2 separate regions of the Homo sapiens genome follow, and region 2 is linked to region 1. Evidence: promoter capture Hi-C in 16 types of primary human blood cells and fetal thymus (Javierre and others, 2016). All regions are on one chromosome and are shown on one strand. The core of a region is centred on a gene start or on the middle of the fragment in contact, and the rest is flanking DNA. Distances in the headings are between cores, read along the strand shown. Region 1 holds the start of DAPK2 (death associated protein kinase 2). Region 2 has its middle 43 kb from the start of USP3.

Region 1 (3,435 bases), core at 301-2,800:
TGGGGCTCCGGCATTACAGAGCTCCTCTCTACATTCCAGGCTTTGACCCATCACAGTCTCCAATGAGGAAGCTGGGGCCCACAGAAGGTCAGCCACCTGCCTGAGTTGACACAAGAAAAACTTGGTCTCTCTGGCAAAGATCCAGCTCCCTTGGGAAGCCTGCTTGTTCACCCCACAGCTAACAAATCGGGAGGCCTCAAGGAGGTGGGCAGGGTCAGTGCGGGTCTCATTCCTGCCAGCCAGGAACTTACCCCAGAGGAGCAGACCTCCAGCCACATCCACACACCCCTGACCCCTCTGCCCAAGTCTCCTCTGAAGGTGCTGAATCATCAGTGGTGCCACTTGAGGGTGCTCAAAAAACATCTTGGGAGATGAGCGGTTTGGGGAAGGACAGGGCTGTGAAGTTAGCTGTGAAGAGGCCAAGGCACCACGGCCTCTTAGGTCAACAGGACTCTCCCAGGAATATCTTCCACAGAGGCAGTTGGGAGTCGCAGTGTCAGAAACCAGAGTGGCTGCCCTCCACAGGATTCCAGGATACAAGATGTCAGGCGCTGTCCCTGCACCTGCCCGCTTGCCCCCGAGGCAGCCAGCTATGGTGCCCTCTCCTCCAGTGTGCACCACTGCCTTACCATTACCTGCACGGCCTCAACGAGGCTCACCTCTCTGGACCTTGTTTTCTCTTTTGTAAAGTAAGAATACCAATTTCCACCGTGCAGAGTTACGGTGAGGGTTAGCCAGACCTATGCAAGCCTTGGGACCTCCAAAATGCCTAGCCCAGAGTCCTAGTCAACTGTTGGCAACGCCCTTCCAAGCCGTTCCACCCCAACCTGCAGCACACCTGCTGGCCGCCCCCACGCCCATCCTAGCTCTACCCCAGGCCGGGGCGCCTGACGGCGGGGACCCCAGCTTCATTCAGCCCCAGAGGAAGCTCAGACATCTGAGCACCCTCCTCGCATCACATCCTTGTGCCAGGCGGGAGCAAGAGGTGAGAGAGTCAGCCCAAGCTGAGAAGACTTGGCCGGGAGCCGGGCGTGCTCTGCCCGTTCCAGGGGGCCTAACTCGATGGACGTCTGTCTCCCATCTCCCTGCTGGGTGCTTGGCTCTGCCCGCCGCCTCTACCCTGTCTCCCAGGTCAAAGTGCCAGGCTCCGGAGGGCGCCCCAGGGCAGCGGCGGGCAGCTCCCGCGCTCGGGTGCCGGCCACAATGCCCCGGGCCACGGCGTCAGGCATTGGGGCGGCGGGCCCGGGATCTGCGAGCGAGTGCCCCGGATCTCTTCGCCCCGCCAGCCCCAGACCCGGGCGCTGCTGCCGTCAGGCCGCGCGCCCCGTCCCGCCCATCGAGCCCGCAGACGGGTGCTACTCACGGCGGGAGGCTGAGCTGCCGCGGTCGCGGCCGCGGCAGGCGCGGCGGGAGCGGCGGGCGCGGCGGGCGCGGCGGGCGCGGCGGGCGCGGCGGGAACGGGGGACGCGGCGGGGTGCGCTGGGCTCGGCCCTGCAGTCCTCTCCTCCCAGAGCGCCCGGCACCCGCCCGCCGAGCAGCCTAGGAGCCGAGGGGGCGGAGCGGCCAGCCCCGTCCCAGGCGCCGGCTGGAGGCGCGCCCGGCTGCCCGGGACGGGGCTCGGGGCGCCCCCTGCTGGAGCCCCCTCCGGACAGTCCCGGGGCGAGAGCCCAGCTTCCCGGCCGGGTAGGGGACACCTCAGGGCTCCCAGACTCCCGGGAGAGCGGGGAGAGTCGGTAGCAAGACCCTCTGCGCGTCCCTACCGGCTCTACCGCGCACATGCTGCGTGGCCTTGGGCAAGTCGGCTACCCTCCCCCGGCCTTATCTGGAAATCGATTTGAATGAGCTTATACGTATGACATGGTCTGGCACAATCCTCAGAAAATGGTACTTGTGTGCTCCTCTCCCCACCATACACACCGTGAGCGAGGAAGCCCCACTGAGGAATAGGCCGTCTCCTCCCTCCCAGCCAGAGCGCTCCCTACACCGCAGACTCTCCTGGAAACCTCAAGCCCACAGCGTACAGCAAGGTGGGGGCTGCGATGAGAAGGGCCGCTCTGCTCCTCACTGCCCCCGACCCAGCCTGAGAGCGGCCTGCCCTCGTTTGCCCTTTGTCCTGGCACGGTTGCTGAGTGAAGCCCCCCTCTCACCATCACGCCTTCTCTAATAGAGGACTTGGGAATGGGTTCCTCTCTCTGCCCTCTGCCAAAAAATCCCTGAGGAAAAAAGGAATGAGAGTGAGGGGGTGAAGGGAGGAAGGAAGGGAAAACAGAACTTAAGCCAAGTTCATTTGTCTTATTTCAAAACAAGAGGCTGTTTAGAGGAAGCAAATGAGGACCCCTCCAACCCCTGGAATTTCCATCCCTAAGTCACCCATGGGGCTCCTCAAAAGGGCCTTAGATTCAGAGTCCTACCACCAGGTTCAAAGCCCTGCCCTGCCACTCCGCATGTGTGTTCTTGGGCATGGCTCTTTCTTCATCAGTAAAGTGGGAGAAACGCACCTTCCGGTAGCTCCTAATGAAGCTATGGTGGGGCTGAGATGAGATGGAGTGTGTAAGATGCACCTAGAGGACCTCTACCAGTGTGAGCACACACACACCCTTCAGCCTTTTGGACATTGGGACAAATACAGATGGACCCCACCCCCCAGCTGAGCAGTGCCTCCGGGTCCAGGACATCCTCGGCAAAGAGTTCCTTGTTTATAAACTTCACAATAATTCAGAACAGTGCAGCCAGCGAGCCTCCTCTCCTAAGAGCAGCATGATATATAGAGTAATATCCAAGACTAGAGGTGGTTTCTGATGTCAACGGACCTAAGGGAATGACACCCACTGGTGAAGTTTCACCAACATGAGAAGTCCCCCACCAAACTATCCCTAAACACCTCTTCCTCCATTTCCATTTACCTATCACTGGTGACAAACCATTACCAGCCTTGGTGGCACAGGACAACAGTTTCACTATGTTCATGCATTCTGAGGGACAGAAGTTCAGACAGCACAGTGTGTATGGCTTATTTCTGCTCTGCAGTGTCTGGGATTTCAACTGGGAACACCTGAATAGCTGGGGGCTGAAATCATCTGGAGATTTCTCCATTCTCATACCCAGTACCTGGGCTGTGATGAATCCAAGGCTGGGCTCAGCTGACCCTGCTGATCACCTACATGTGGCCTCTCCATCTCTTTCCCTTGAGCCTCATGCTTAATACCTCATTGTCAGCAGCAGCAGCCCCTTACATGAGTCAAAAGAGACATTCTTGGGTTTAGCAATTGACAAGTTAGTCAGAGTCCATTGCAGCTGGAAGGGTCATTGTCAATTGACCCTGGCCACTTTTCAGATGAGGAAACTGAGGCTCGGAGAAGGGAGGTGACTTGCCCAACATCACATAGCTGGTGAGAGACAGAGCTAGGATTAGAACCAGGCCTCCTCCAGATTCAG
Region 2 (3,435 bases), core at 414-2,913, 580 kb before region 1:
ATGCCAGACACGCTATTGGTAACTCACATTGTTCCTGAGGTCATGGATTCCTAACAACCACCACCATCACTGCATCTACTAATGCCACTGGTTGCTTCGGGCTCCCCTAAGGACAAGGGTCAGGGTGTGGTGCAGTTCCCATCCTTCGCGCTGCAACACGAGCTGCAGTAGCTCAGGCACCCAGACCTGAGGCAGGTCTGGCTTTCTGAGAAGTCCTCCAGAAGGGCTCCCAGGGAAACAGCCTAGAATGCAGGGGAATCAGCCTCCCAAAAGGTGAACTTTGATTAATGAGAGATAGGAGGTGGGCAGGCACTGGCAGGTAGAGTGCTCTCCTCTCCTCCAGGGTCTCCACGCAGCCTGTCCAGAGAAACCCCGCATGGCCCCTGATCTGCTCTGGCCCCTCCACACCTCCCTGGATCTGTGGTTCCTGCCTGCCTGCCTGCCTGCCTCATTTCTCTTTGTTCTCCACTCTTGCTTCCGTGAGATGAAACCAACCAAAAAAGCATTTGTGCCTAAGCTTGGCCTCTGGCTGTGTATTTTGGGATCTCAAACTAAGACAAAGAGAAACTAATATTTGTGGGTCCCTATTATGTGCCAGGCACCGTGAACCTTACCCAAGTTATCTTACTTCATCCTTACGAAAACTGTAAGGTAGTGATTATTAACTCAGTCTTCCAGATAAGGAAACTGAAGAAAGAGGAAACCGTGGAGCCAGCTATTAACTGGTGGAGCGGGAAATGTGAGGCAAAATCAAACATTGAAACATGCGGTGCCCCCTTCGGTTTTGTACCTTTTGTGGCTCCCTAGTGTCTGATCCTTTGGGGAGCCTGCAGTTTCGTCAGTTACATCCTGCAACAGTTTGGGATAGGTTGAAACCTCAGCAGCATCTGACCCATAAAAGAATGTTACTGCGGGGCCTCCCTAAAAGACAAGGGAGGAATCAAGAGAATTCCAAGAAAGGCGTCCGAGCAGGAGGTAAGACAGTAGATTTGAAAGCAGGACTGAGGGAGCAGGAATGGGAAGAGGGGCCCAGCCCCAGCGGGTCAGGGGCCGGACTAGGCTAGCGAGGCCCAAGTGCGGTGGCCCCATGCAGAGATCCTGGCTCGGTGCAAAGGAGATGCCGCTCCCACCGTCTGCAGGAGGCAAGGGCTCCCCTTCCCCGGCCAGGAGCCGGGTGCAAGAGGAGCCTGGGGAGGGAGCTCCAGGCCTGGAGCAAAGGCTCCTCCTAGGGGCCCGCGGTCGGCAGAGAGCGCGGGACACTCACGGCCATGGAGAGCAGCCCGCCCGGTGAATGGAGCCTTTCTCTGGGCACTTGGCAGAACTCGGGGGCCCTCTGTGCAGAGAGGAGGCCCACTGGAATAGAAATAACCTCTGGCTTGCAGAAGCATTTTGTGGAAAGATTCAGGAGCTCAGTAGGCAGAGCAGTCCCAAGAAAGACATTTGGAATGTTGAAACTTTTAGAAGAAAATCCAGACCGTTTTTAGGGCCTCGGGTAAAAAATCACTCTTAAACAAGACACCAAAAGTTCAAGGAAAAGAGGAAGGGTGACTTCACTAAAATTAAGAACTTCTAGTCATAAAAAAACATGACACAGAGAAGACAATCCAGAGACTGGACTCGATCACTGTAACACCTACACCTGGCAAAGAATTCCTGTCCAGAATCTATTTTTAAAACTTCGACAAATCAATAAGAATGAACAATTTAATTTTTTCAATGGGGAAAAGACATGAACAGGCATTTCAGGGATAAGGAAATACAAAAAGACCACCAACATATGAAAAAATGGTCAGCCTCCTTAGTAATAAGGGAAATGCAAACTAAAATAAAAATTAGATACAATTCCACAGCCACGAGGCTGGCAGAAATTTAAAACACAGGCAATCAAGCAGGGGCAAGGATGTAGAACAATGAGAATTCTCATACATGGTTGGTAGGAGAGTTGATTGTTACCACCACTTGGAACAGTTTGGCCTTATCTGATAAAATTAAAGACACGCATACCTTATGACTCAGTAATTCCACTTCTAGATAAATATTAACTCTCATATATAGGCAGTAGGAGAAATAAACAAGCATGGTTTAAAATAGTCCCAAATTGGAAACAACTCAAATGTCCATTTGCTGTAGGAGGAATAAATTCTAACACAGTCCCATAGTGGAAACTATGTAGCTATGAAAATGAATAAACTACAGCTGTACCCATCAACATAGATCACAGATGTGAAAAGCAAGTTATAAAAGAATACTTACAGTATGATTCCCTTGATAAAAGTTTAGAGGCAAGAAAAACTAGGGATAATACTTATAAGGTAAAGCTCTTTCTCAAAAGTAGGAGAGGCTGAATGCAGTGGCTCATGCCTATAATCCCAGCACTTTGGGAGGCTGAGGCAGGATTGCTTGACTCCAGGAGTTTGGGACCTCCCTGGGTAACATAGTGAAACTGCATCTCTAAAAATAAAAACAAAAAAGTAAACAGGTGTGGTGGCATGTGCCTGTGGTCCCAGCCACCTGGGAGGCTGAAGTGGGAGGATCAGTTGAGCCCGGGAGATCAAGGGTGTAATGAGCTATGATCACACCACTACACTCCAGCCTAGGTGACAGAGTGAGACCCTATCTCAAAAAAATAAAAAGCAAGAGAAAGATTAATGCAAAATCGAGGATAGGAGAGTGAAGAGAATGCATCAGGGAAGAACAATAGGAGCTTTGCAGGCACTGGTAGTATTTTTTCTAAAGTTTAGTGTGCGGTTTGTTTTATTGTTATTCCTTAAACTATACTTACACGTTATATATATATTCTTGTATGAATGAAGCTTTCACCAAAAGCTTTTTTTAAGAATGAGAGTTAGGCTTTTTTCAAGGGCAGTGAGACCACTATCAGAGATTTTTCTATGTAGCTGAGATCCATCCTAGTTGGACTGAGGGTGTAAGAACATCAGGACAAAGGAGCTGGGGTGGGGAGGGGTGCTAACAGGGAGGCCTCACTCTGTGCCAGGCTTTAATGAGCAGAATCTCAATGGGCATCAGATGCTGCCTTGTCAATAAAACACAGCCAAGAACAAGCTGAGTTGCTGGAATTCTGAATAATAATGAATTAGAACTTACTGCTGTATCTAATAATCCTTCTGTGACATTTGTATAGTGTTTCACAGTTTATGAAACACTTTTATCACTTTTATATGAGTTAACTCAGTCAGTTCCCGTAATCCCACTGAGAGGCAGGCAGAGAAGATTATTTTTATGCCTATTTTTAATGAGAAAGCAACCAAGTCACAGACAGTTGATGTGACTTGTCTGAGGCTACACAGCCAGAACTGCGTCTTAAATCTCCTGGTCAAGTGCTCTGCCTAGCACAGCTGCTGCCTGCCTGTTCCAAGTGTGGTGGACAGAGATTCTGCCCAGGTGCCCCCTCCCTGTCCCAAGCCCTGCCACATC

The links. The method cuts DNA at HindIII sites, captures the fragments that hold promoters and counts their contacts. A CHiCAGO score of 5 or more calls a contact.
Region 2: a contact is called between a fragment that was not itself captured here and the fragment with the promoter of DAPK2 in region 1, in 1 of 17 cell types (endothelial precursors). The highest score is 5.4, in endothelial precursors.

The regions. Positions count from the first base shown.
Region 1 is chr15:64,044,935-64,048,369 of GRCh38, forward strand. DAPK2 (death associated protein kinase 2) reads right to left here and starts at 1,551. Exons shown (of 12, transcript NM_014326.5): 1 at 1,364-1,551. RefSeq lists silencers at 1,185-1,404, 1,435-1,494, 1,515-1,724. The HindIII fragment of the contact is 10,777 bases long and covers 1-3,435 here.
Region 2 is chr15:63,460,248-63,463,682 of GRCh38, forward strand. No RefSeq gene overlaps it. Among named protein-coding and RNA genes, the nearest start is that of USP3, 43 kb to the right of the region's middle. The HindIII fragment of the contact is 2,296 bases long and covers 516-2,811 here.